2 separate regions of the Homo sapiens genome follow, and region 1 is linked to region 2. Evidence: promoter capture Hi-C in human tissues and cell types (Jung and others, 2019). All regions are on one chromosome and are shown on one strand. The core of a region is centred on a gene start or on the middle of the fragment in contact, and the rest is flanking DNA. Distances in the headings are between cores, read along the strand shown.

What was found. Contacts are between HindIII fragments. The study calls those that stand out against the background at their distance.
Region 1: a contact is called between a fragment that was not itself captured here and the fragment with the promoter of DIP2B in region 2, in 1 of the 25 tissues and cell types used here (hippocampus).

The regions. Positions count from the first base shown.
Region 1 is chr12:50,153,618-50,159,608 of GRCh38, reverse strand. The region is part of intron 1 of CERS5 (ceramide synthase 5); the gene reads left to right. The region is part of intron 1 of LOC124902931 (a long non-coding RNA gene); the gene reads right to left. Among named protein-coding and RNA genes, the nearest start is that of CERS5, 11 kb to the left of the region's middle. The HindIII fragment of the contact is 3,628 bases long and covers 2,081-5,708 here.
Region 2 is chr12:50,500,681-50,506,950 of GRCh38, reverse strand. It overlaps DIP2B (disco interacting protein 2 homolog B), which reads right to left and starts at 1,966. Exons shown (of 38, transcript NM_173602.3): 1 at 1,711-1,966. The coding sequence starts at 1,810. RefSeq lists a silencer at 1,554-1,663. The HindIII fragment of the contact is 9,488 bases long and covers 1-6,270 here.

The DNA of each region.
Region 1 (5,991 bases), core at 2,645-5,144, 350 kb after region 2:
AAAGAAAAGAAAATTTTAAATTACATATGTGACTCACATTATATTTCTGTTGGATGGTGATGACAGTAATTCAGACAATATTAATAATAATTGAGAAAATAATTTTAATGTAAATTCACATTTGATACACTTTTTAGGATCAAAAGATGATGCAAAGGTATTAGATGTTCCTTTAAATAATGAATCTAAGACATTTTAGTAAAAATAAGATTTCTAAATGTAAATTATTTTCTGAAATATTCAAATGACTGGTCATATTCTATTTTGAGTAATTTTTTGTTTTTTTGAGACAGAGTCTCGCCCTGTGTCGCCCAGGCTGTAGTGCAGTGGCGGGATCTCGGCTCACTGCAAGCTCTGCCTCCCGGGTTCACACCATTCTCCTGCCTCAGCCTCCTGAGTAGCTGGGATTACAGGCGCCCGCCACCACACCCGGCTAATTTTTTGTATTTTTAATAGAGATGGGGTTTCACCGTGTTAGCCAGGATGGTCTCTATCTCCTGACCTCATGATTCGCCCGCCTCGGCCTCTCAAAGTGCTGGGATTACAGGTGTGAGCCACCGCGCCCGGCCGCTTGAGTAATCTTTGATTGACAGTTGCTTCTAGCCAAGCATTGCTCTATAATTTTGCCTTTTTACATCTATCTTCTCGGTGTTAATGATCTATAAGAAAGTTTGTCAAGTAGGTAAATGTCCATGCAGAACTGCATAGCTCTGATAAGGCATTGAGAATAATCACACTCTTACTATATCTCTTCTGTAAAATACAAGATTTCTTGTAAGGATATTCCTTGTAGTTTTTAGTTTTTGGGTATTGTCAGCATTAGTAAGCAGTCGCAATTACAGGCATAAAGTGTCTCAAACTAGATCAGATTGTTGTGGTTGTGTTTAGGGCAATCTCCAGTTATAGATTGAAATCGGTTAACTTGAATATCTACTGATTCCCCAGAAATCAGTCATCTCCTACACTTGATAAACACCAAACTGGTAGGTTATCTGATGACCCAGGAGGATAAGGCTGAGTTTTAATTTCATCCTTACAAGTGGCACACTTCCATGAAACACTTTGCCTCTTAGTTGAGAATTAAGTTTTCACCCATTTGTTCATCTGTTCATTCTTCAACATCTATTTATTGAAAGCTTAGGATATGTCATATCAAACTATATGTGATGGTTTTAGAAGTTGGACAAGAAAAATGTAAAAATAAATAAAAAGGTATCAAACTATGTGCCAAGGATTAAAAGGTGAATAAACCATGATTTCTACCCTGGAGAGAGCAACAAAATCAGTGGTTATCCCTTATGTGTGTTTGTGTTTCTATTTTAAGCAAATGCATTAAGTTGTATAATTATCCATTGAAAAAAGGTAAATATGTTTAATGAAAGGAACAAGTGGGTTTATCCTACCACTTTGGCCTGAATTCACTTTAGTGTCCTCTCAGTAGAATTCTTCTAGTACATTAGAATGATTGGATTTACAAAAATATACAATCTACATGCATTCCTTGAGAAAAACATCTATTACAGATTTTTTTTTTTTTTTTTTTTTTTTGGTCATGGTCTCACTCTGTCACCTAAGTTGGAGTGCAGTGGCACAATCTGGTATCACTGCAACTTCCACCTCCCTGGCTCAAGCCATCTTGCCACCTCAGCCTCCCAAGAAGCTGGGACTACAGGCATGTGCCACTGTGCCTGGCTAATTTTTGTATTTTTTGTAGGGATGAGGTTTTGCCATGGCTGGTCTTGAACTCCTGAGCTCAAGTGATGCTTCCACCTCGGCCTTCCAAAGTGCTGAGATTACTGGCATGAATCACCATGCCTGGCCTACAGTAGATTATTTTGCTTCTGTCTAGATAGTGTCAATTATTGTTTCAGGTTTGATCTCTTTTTTTTTGGACAATTTCTTTTTTCCTCATCTAATATTCTCCGTTGTATGCCTTTAATGAAGTCAAGGATCTAGGTAAAGTGAATAATGTCAGAAATGTTTGTCAGGTCACAGCTGGAATTTGAAGAGAACCATTTCAGAGATCTTGAATGAACTGCCTTATTTTTGGGGAATGACCTTCAGATTGGGCTCTGTTTATGGACTTGTCTCCCCCATGAAACTGTAGGTATCTAATGCAGTGCTTTGTACATTCATATTAGCTATTCAGTAAGTGTTTATTGAATGAATCACTCTGAAACCTACTTCTGCTTGAGATGTTGCGACTCTAGTACAGTAATTACTGTTTTTTTTTCTAATTTTCCTTCCTAAGAGACGGAATCTTGCTATATTACTGTATCAGTCAGGGTTCTCTAGAGGGACAGAACTAATAGGATGGATATATATATGAAGGGTAGTTTATTAAGTATTAACTCACACTATCACAAGGTCCCACAATAGGCCGTCTGCACACTGAGGAGCAAGGAAAGCCAGTCCAAGTCCCAAAACTGAAGAGCTTGGAGTCCGATGTTTGAGGGGAGGAAGAGTCCAGCACAAGAGAAAGATGTAGGCTGGGAGGCTAGGCCAGTCTAGTCTTTTCACGTTTTTCTGCCTCTTGCCATGCTGGCAGCTGATTAGATGGTGCCCACCCAGATTAAGGGTGGCTCTGCCTTTCCCAGCCCACTGACTCAAATGTTAATCTCCTTTGGCAACACCCTCACAGACATGTGCAGGATGAGTGTTTTGCATTCTTCAATCCAATTAAGTTGATACTCAGTATTAACCATCACAATTACCCAGGCTGGAATTCAGTGGCCATTCACAGGGCTGATGTCACTACAGCCTTGACCTCCTGGCCTCAATCAGTCCACCTGCCTCAGCCTCCATGGTAGCTGGAACTACAGGCCCAGCTACATAATTTCCTTTTTGACTCCTGAGATTCCTATGCTGTACAGCAGTGGGTTCTCAAATCTTTTGCTCAGGACTCCTTTATATTTTAAAAAATTATTGAAGACCCCAAATAGCTTTTGTTTATATGAGTTATATCTATCAATATTTTCTCTATTAAAAACTAATACTGATAAATTTTTTAAGTATGTATTAAGCTTCACTCTGTCAGCCACGCTGGAATGCAATGGCATGATCATGACTCACTACAGCCTCCACCTCTTGGCTCAAACAATCCTCCCACCTCAGCCTCCCAGTAGCTGGGACCAGAGGTGCATGCCACCACACCTGGCTACTAATTGTTTTATATATATATATATATAGTTTGTTTGTTTGTTTTGAGACAGAGTCTTGCTCTGTCACCCAGGCTGGAGTGCAGTGGCGTGATGTTGGCTCACTGCAAGCTCTGCCTCCCAGGTTCACGCCATTCTCCTGCCTTGGCCTCCCCAGCAGCTGGGACTACAGGCGCACGCTGCCACACCCGGCTAATTTTTTTTTGTATTTTTAGTAGAGACGGGGTTTTACCGTGTTAGTCAGGATGGTCTCGATCTCCTGACCTTGTGATCCACCCGCCTCAGCCTCCCAAAGTGCTGGGATTACAGGCGTGAGCCACCACGGCCGGCCTTTTTTTTTTTTTTTTTTTTGAGACAGAATGTCGCTCTGTCGCCCAGGCTGGAGTGCAGTGGCGCGATCTCAGCTCACTGCAACCTCTGCTTCCCAGGTTTAAGCAGTTCTCCTGCCTCAGCCTCCGAGTAGCTGGGACTGCAGGTGTGCCACCACACCCAGCTAATTTTTGTATTTTTAGTAGAGACGGGGTTTCACCATATTGGTCAGGCTGGTCTCAAACTCCTGACCACAGGTGATCCACCCGCCTTGGCCTCCCAAAGTGCTGGGGATTACAGGCGTGAGCCACCATGCCCGGCCACTAATTGTTATATTTTTTGTAGAGACAAGATTTCATCATGTTACCCAGGCTGGGCCTTTTTTTTTTTTTTTTTTTTTTTTTTGAGATGGAGTCTCGCTCTGTCGCCCAGGCTGGAGTGCAGTGGCGCAATCTCGGCTCACTGCAAGCTCTGCCTCCCGGGTTCACGCCATTCTCCTGCCTCAGCCTCCCGAGTAGCTGTGACTACAGGCGCCTGCCACCACGCCTGGCTAATTTTTTTGTATTTTTAGTAGAAATGGGGTTTCACCCTGTTAGCCAGGATGGTCTCGATCTCTTGACCTCGTGATCCACCTGCCTCAGCCTCCCAAAGTGCTGGGATTACAGGCCTGAGTCACCGTGCCTGGCAATTTTTTTTTTTAATGGCCCTCAAAGGAAGCTGCAAAGATCACTTGAGCACAGACCATGCAAGAAATGTTGGGTTTGGTGGTATAGGTATCTTGAAAAGTGCAATACCTTGTATACAAGGAATCCTCTTCTTTTAAGAATTTACTCAGAAGAATACATTGTAACTTTTTGTTCTCAGGGATTGTTTTTCACTTTTAAAAATTACTGAGGACTCCAAGGAGCTTTTGTTTATGTGGGTTACATATACCCATCAACTTTACCATATTTTAAATTAAAATTGAGAAATTTAAGAAATGCTGACCGGGCACGATGGCTCACCCCTATAATCCCAGCACTTTGGGAGGCCTAGGTGGGTGGATCACCTGAGGTCAGGAGTTCAAGACCAGCCTGGCCAACACGGTGAAACCCCGTCTCTACTAAAAATGCAAAAATTAACCAGGCATGGTGGTGCACGCCTATAGTCCCAGCTACTTGGGCAGCTGAGGCAGGAGAATCACTTGAACCTGAGAGCAGAGGTTGCAGTGAGCCAAGATAGCGCCACTGCACTCCAGCCTGGGTGACGGAGCGAAACTCTGTCTCAAAAAGAAATTTAAGAAATGCTTATTAATTCATTAAAAATAACAACAGGCCAGGTGCAGGGGTTCACACTTGTAATCCCAGCACTTAGGGAGGCAGAGACAGGAGGATAGCTTGAGCTCAGGAGCTCAAGACCTGTGTGGGTAACATAGCAAGACCTCGTTCTCCACAAAAAGGGAGAAAATAGACAAAAAATAATAATAAATTGATTTACATGTTAACATAAATAAGCTTTTTGAAAAATATTATTTTCCAAAAGAAAAAATAGAAGAACAGCATTGATTTTACATTTTTGCAAATCTCTTTAATATCTGGCTTAATAGAAGACAGCTGGATTATCCTAGCAGCTTCTGCATTCAATCTCTTGTGATACATTGTTTTGATTGAAGTATATGAAGAAAAGATGGCCTCACACAGCTTTGTCATTGAAAAGCAGGAAGTATTTTAATAGCCCTTTCAAATAATTTGATATTTATCTTTGATACTACACCAAAACACAAGTAGCAGTTTTTTGTTTTGTTTTGTCTTGTTTTGAGACGGAGTCTTGCTCTGTTCCCAGGCTGGAGTGTAGTGGCGCGATCTCACTGCAACCTTCGACTCCCTGGTTCAAGCGATTCTCCTGCCTCAGCCTCCCGAGTAGCTAGGATTACAGGCATGTGCCACCGCACCCAGCTAAGTTTTGCATTTTTAGTAGAGATGGGGTTTCACCATGTTGGCCAGGATGGTCTAGATCTCTTGACCTCGTGATCTGCCTGCCTCGGCCTCCCAAAGTGCTGGGATTACAGGCGTGCCACGCCCAGCCACAAGTAGCAGTTTCTTAAACGTTGATTCCTAGGTAGAATCTGAAGCCATATTAATGAGCTTTTCATTTTATTATGTTAAAATCCATTGTTCTATGTTCATTGTGTTTTGTTGTTGTTGTTTTGAGGTGGTGTTTTGCTCTTGTCGCCCAGGCTGGAGTCCAATGGTGCAGTCACAGCTCACTGCAACCTCTGCCTCCCAGGTTCAAATGATTCTCCTGCCTCAGCCTTCCAAGTAGCTGGGATTATGGGTATGCGCCATCACGCCCAGTTAATTTTGTATTTTTAGTGGAGATGGGGTTTCACCATATTGGCCAGGCTGGTCTCAAACTCCTGACCTCAGGTGATCCGCCTGCCTCAGCCTCCCAAAGTGCTGGGATTATAGGCGTGAGCCACCATGCCTGGCCTATATTACAGTTTGAATGGACATCATGTATCCATCATTTGGAAAATACTGGTTCA
Region 2 (6,270 bases), core at 717-3,216:
TTTCCCTCTCCGTGTGAAAGCAATCAACTCCTATTTTTAATCTCCCTCTGACGCAAGCATCCAGGCAAACCTCTCTCTAATCAAAGCTAGATGATTTGTTACTTTCAAATAGCAGTTTTAAAAGTCAGATTTTAATGCAAGTCAACACAGATTTAATGTCAATGCTTTAGTCTAGGAGAAGAATGAGTTATCTTGAGAGACAGAATTGATGGTAATGCAAAAAGCTCCTCGATTTTCGAAGCGGGGGGAACTTAAGGTATAACTGGGCAGACAAACCCAGAGGATTCCTATCTTCTTAAACACTTCACAGAAACAAACTAATCTAATACCAGTGATTCCCGGGACTGGCCGAAGAATAACTTGAAAATTGGATTAATTGAAAAATAACATGTTGATAGTTAAGTACAGGTAAAAACAGCACTTTCCTACACATTGGGTTATTAAAAGGGTTATTAAAAATAATTATTTCCTTCAGTGCCCAACAGGATTTATAACATTCAACTCTATTTTTGGTTTTTCATTGTAAAGGATTCTCAGAGGGGAGGGAACCATAATGCCTTAATAAGTAAACAATAAGTAATGTTTAATAAGCTCCTGGGAGTTGGTCACATTCTTCTTTTCCAATCAAGAGTTTTTGATCCACTTGAAAAATGCTAGTGAAGAGGGCCTTCCACAAGGAACTCAGTAAGAATATGCAACTCTGGAGACACAATCAAAGTACTGGTATCAAGCTTGGAGAAAATGCTGCTTTTGTCTCAGGGGCAGCCAGTGATAAAAACAGGAACTTTACACAGAACTGATCACAACTGCCCCAGAAGCCTGATCACATGCCCACAACGGAGCACTGTGTTTCTCTCATTGTTGTACAAGGAGTTCTCTAATAACAGTGGCTTGATTTATCCCATTTTTTTTTTTTAATTCTGAAAATAAATCGAACCCTCCCTGTCCCAATCCATTGTCAAAAGAAAGAATGCCAGCCAGGATTTGCAAGTAAACGGTAGCCTCCTCTCCTTCCTTCATCAAAGACTCCAAAAGGTGACCAGATGCGGAAAATTCGGCCCGAATAACAGGCACCAGGAAAAAAAAAAACTTCTTATGACAAAGGTGGTCTAAAAGCAGCACCGTGTGTCTCTCTGGGTTAATGCCATTGCTTCTTATCTTCCTAGGACCCTAAATGGCTCACCCGCTTGTGTCTCACTCCTGTCACTGGGGAGGCATCGCGCATTGTTAAAGGAAAGAGAAGAAATGATGCTGCGGATTTCCCATGTGTCTCTTTTTGAAAGGGGGAAGGGGGGGCTGGAACAAGGCGTGGAGCCCTCCACGAAAAGGGGAGAGGAAAGGAGAAAGCTGTCAGCCACCCTCCTCGCAGCCCTACCCCTCACCCCACCTGGGCCAGACGCCTGGGCAGAAGCGGGAGGGCGCAGCTTTGTCTCGGGTTTTGGGGGGCAGGAAGCGCAGAAGCAGTGTGGGCCCGGGAGGACCTTTCCACAAGCCCTTACTTAGTCCCCTCCATGGGAAAACAATGAAAGCCACAGGAAACCACTTAATGGGGTGGGAGAGGAGGGAAAACGGTCGTGGAGCGCCAGGCCAGGTTCTCTACACCCTCGTCCCCCTCGCCGCACGGCCGCCAGAGCGCGCGGCGGGGACCTGTCTCCCAAGTCGCCGCGATCCGCAGGGCCCCGGGCGCCCTCTCCCCGGCCCGGCTCCTACCCTCCGAGAGCTCCAGCTCCAGCTCCGCCAGCTGCGCCCGCACTTCAGGCGGCAGCGCCGCCACCGCGGCCGGCGACGGCTCCAGGCCTCGTTCCGCCATCCCAGCTCCGCCAGCCACACTCCGGAAGACAAGAGAGGGGGCCGAAGGAGGGACGGACAGACACGGGCCCACACCCGGCTACAGGATCCGGCTCCGGCCGCCGAGCACCACCAGCACCGCCGCCGCCGCCGCCGCCGCCATGAGCAAAGGTCACGTGAGCGCGACGGCCCCCGCCCCCCGGCCAGGAGGACGCACCGCCTCTCCAGCCCAGTCAGGCTGAAGACGCATATGCTTACGGCGCCCTCTACTGGGAAGCTACCAGAACGACGGGCCCAAGCCCACCACTCGAATTTCCCTGCGCGAAATGGGCTCATGGTATGGACTGTCGGCTTTACCACAGTAGTGTGGACACATAGCATTTACCTTTCACTCTCGAGCAAGTTTTTAGGGGTCCCAGGCCTTACTTTTTCCAATACTAGACTTAGCAATGTATGTCTATCGTGTCCTTTACTCCATTTTCCCTGATTAATACCTGCCCATTTATAAAAACCTAATCACAGGCCACCTCCTTCGCTGTGGCTCCTGGTCCTATCTGCCAGGAGCTCTGTTTCCGTTTCAGTTTTAGCTTTTAAAAAGACAGGCGCGGTGGCTCTCGCCTGTAATCCTAGCACTTTGGGAGGCTGAGGCTGGTGGATCACCTGAGGTTAAGAGTACCAGGCTAGCCGACCGGGCGCGGTGGCTCACGCCTGTAATCCCAGCACTTTGGGAGGCCGAGACGGGTGGATCACGAAGTCAGGAGATCGAGACCATCCTGGCTGACACGGTGAAACCCCGTCTCTACTAAAAGTACAAAAAATTAGCCGGGCGTGGTGGCGGGCGCCTGTAGTCCCAGCTACTCGGGAGGCTGAGGCAGGAGAATGGCGTGAACCCGGGAGGCGGAGCTTGCAGTGAGCCAAGATCACGCCACTGCACTCCAGCCTGAGCGTGAGCGCGAGACTCCGACTCAAAAAAAAAAAAAAAAGAGTACTAGGCCAGCCTGGCCAACATGGTGAAACCCCGTCTCCAATAAAAATACAAAAATTAGCCGGGCGTGGTGGCGGATGCCTGTACTCCTAGCTACTCAAGAGGCTGAGGCAGGAGAATCACTTGAACCCAGGAGGCAGAGGTTACAGTAAGCTGAGATCGCGTCATTGCACTCCAGCCCGGGCAAGAGAGCAAACACTCCGTCTAAAGAAAAGAAAAAGACAATAGAGAGCAGGTCCACTTCTTTCTTTCTATACTTCTAACTACTTACAAGGAGGGAACTTACTTTAACTCATCCTCCTCACTCTGTGGCCTAATAGGTGTTCCAAAAACATTAATTTTAATTTAATATGAAGAGGGTCCAAGGCTAGGTGCAGTGGCTCACACCTATGATCCCAGCACTTTGGGAGGCCAAGGTGGGCGGATCACCTGAGGTCAAGAGTTCGAGACCAGCCTGGCCAACATGGCGAAACCCCGTCTCTACTAAAAACACAAAAATTAGCCGGGAGTAGTGGCACATGCCTGTAATCCCAGCTACCTGGGGGAGCTGAGGTAGGAACGTCGCTTGAACCCGGGAGGCCAAGGTTACAGTGAGCTGAGAACATGGCGGCTGCGCTCCAGCCTGGGCAACGCAGTGAAACTGTTTCAAAAAAAAAAAAAAAAGTCAAGGCCGGGCGTGGTCGCTCACATCTGTAATCCCAGCACTTTGGGAGGCCGAGGCAGGCAGATCACCTGAGGTCAGGAGTTGGAGATCAGCCTGACCAGTATGGTGAAACCCCGCGTCTACTAAAAATACAAAAATTAGCTGGGCATGGTGGCATGTGCCTGTAATCCCAGCTACTCGGGAGGCTGAGACAGGAGAATCGCTTGAACCCGGGAAGTGGAGGTTGCGGTAAGCCCAGATTGCACCACTGCATTCCAGCCTGGGCAACAAGAGCGAAACTCCGTCTCAAAAAAAAAAAAAAAAAAAAAGGAAAAACTGGATGAAGCATACACAGGAATTATCTGTACTATCTTTGCAACTTTTCAGTAAATTTAAAACCATTCTAAAGTAAAACATTTATTTAAAATTATAGAAGCTTAGAACAAACTTGAGAGATCCTCCTACCTCAGCCTCTCAAAGTGCTGGGATTACAGGCATAAGCCACCTCATCCAGCCTTTACTGCATTCTTCCACCAAATTATTCTACCTTTTTGCTAGATTATTCCTTATATTCTCTTTATTTCTAATTGTTTATTCTTTACCTTAATCTTTTTGTCTAGATATTATTGTTGTACCAGCCTTTTTAATTACTACTTGCTGACTTTTTTTAGTCTTTTATTTTCAACTTTTGTCTGTGACTCTGGTTGTAACAAATTAATTAAATCCATTTAAGTTCATTTAATATAATTACTGATATATTAGGACTTATTTCTTCATTCTTGTTAAATGTTTTCTGTTTATCAATCTCTGTCTTTGCTTTCTTCCCCCCCTTTTTCTCCTATTGTTGAATTAGTAAAGTGTTAGATAGTACTTCTTTGTTCTTCTGGTTTGGAAGGTACAGATTATACTGCTATTCTTTCTGTGACTATTTTAAAAGTTTAACATTAAATTTTTCTCCGAGGCCAGGTGTGGTGGCTCATGCTTTTGGAGAAAAACTTTTAAAAATTAACAAACAAAAATATACTATGTTTATACTGTGTCACCGTTTTTTTTTTTTTTAGACAGAGTCTCGCTCTGTCACCCAGGCTAGAGTGCAGTGGCGCAATTTCAGCTTACTACAACCTCTGCCTCCCGGGTTCAAGCGGTTTTCCTGCCTCAGCCTCCCAAGTAGCTGTGATTACAGGCACCGGCCACCATGCCCGGCTAATTTTTGTATTTTTAGTATTTTTAGTAGAAATGTGGTTTCACCATGTTGGCCAGGCTGGTCTCGAACTCCTGACCTCAAGTGATCCACTGGCCTCAGCCTCCCAAACTTCTGGGATTACAGGCGTGAGCCACCGCACCAGCACCTTTACCAGTGCTGTTTATTTCTTCGTGTGAACTCAGGCTATTGTCTAATAATCTTTCATTTCAGGCTGAATGGCTCACATTGCGGGGCAAGTGACAAATTCAGTTGTTGTTTATCTAGGAATGTCTGCATTCTCCATCATTTTTCTTTTTTTCTTTTTTTTTCTTTTTTTTTTTTTTTTTTTTTTTTGAGACGGGGTCTTGCCCTGTCACTCAGGCTGGGGTGCAGTGGCACCATGTTGGCTTGCTGCAACTTCAATCTCCTGGGCTTAAGTAATCCTCCCACCTCAGCCTCCCAAGTATCTGGGATTATAAATTCATGCCTCTACACTCGGCTGATTTTTTACTTTTTTGTAGACATGAGGTCTCACTGTGTTGCCCAGGCTGGTCTCAAACTCGGGCTCAAGTGATCCTCTCCTCGGCCTCTCAAAGTGCTGAGATTACAGGCATGAGCCACCACACCTGGCCTCTCCTTCATTTTTGAGGTATAGTTTTGTGGATATGGAATTGTTGGTTGACAATTTTTTTTAGCATTTTGAATGTCTTTCCACTGCCTTCTGGGCTCCATGGTTTCTTTTTTATTATTATTATTTTTGAGATGGAGTTTCGCTCCTGTTGCCCAGGCTAGAGTGCAATGGCAAGATCTCGGCTCACTGCAACCTCTGCCTCCCAGGTTCAAGTAATTCTCCTGCCTCAGCCTCCCGAGTAGCTGGGATTACAGGCATGCCCCACCACGCCTGGCTAATATTGTATTTTTAGTAGAGATGGGTTTTCTCCATGTTGGTCAGGCTGGTCTCAAACTCCCAACCTCAGGTGATACACCAACCTCGGCCTCCCAAAGTGCTGGGATTATAGGCGTGAGCCACCATGCCCAGCTGGGCTCCATGGTTTCTGATGAGAAGTCAGTTATTAATTTTGCTGAGGATCCCTTATACATGATGAGTTGCCTTTTTTTTTTTTTTTTTTTTGCTGTATTCAATGTTCTCTCTTTGTTTTTGTCTTTTGGCAGTTTGACCATAATGTGCCTAGGTGTGGATCTCTTTGAGTTTATTCTTCTTGGAGTTAACTGACCTTGAATGTGCACATTAATATTCTTTATCAAATTTGAGAAGTTTTCAGGGATTATTTCTTCAAATAAGCATTTTTTTTCCTTTAGAGACAGAGTCTCACTGTCAGCCAGTCTTCAGTGCAGTGGCACAATCATAGCTCACTGCAGCCTCAACCTCCCGGACTCAAGCCTGACTAATGTTTTTACTTTTTGTGGGGACAGGGGTCTCCCTATGTTGCCCAAGCTGTTCTCAAACTCTTGGGCTTAAGCAATCCTCCCACCTTGGCCTCTCAAGGTGCTAGGATTACAAATATGAACCACTCTGCCCAGCCTCTAAACACTGTTTTAAATACAAAGAAATAGTTCTTGTTTCTGCATGTCATAGCTTTGTAAGTTTACCTTTTTCTATTTTATCTAATATTGATGTATACATAGGAGAAAGGGTACTTCAGAACATGA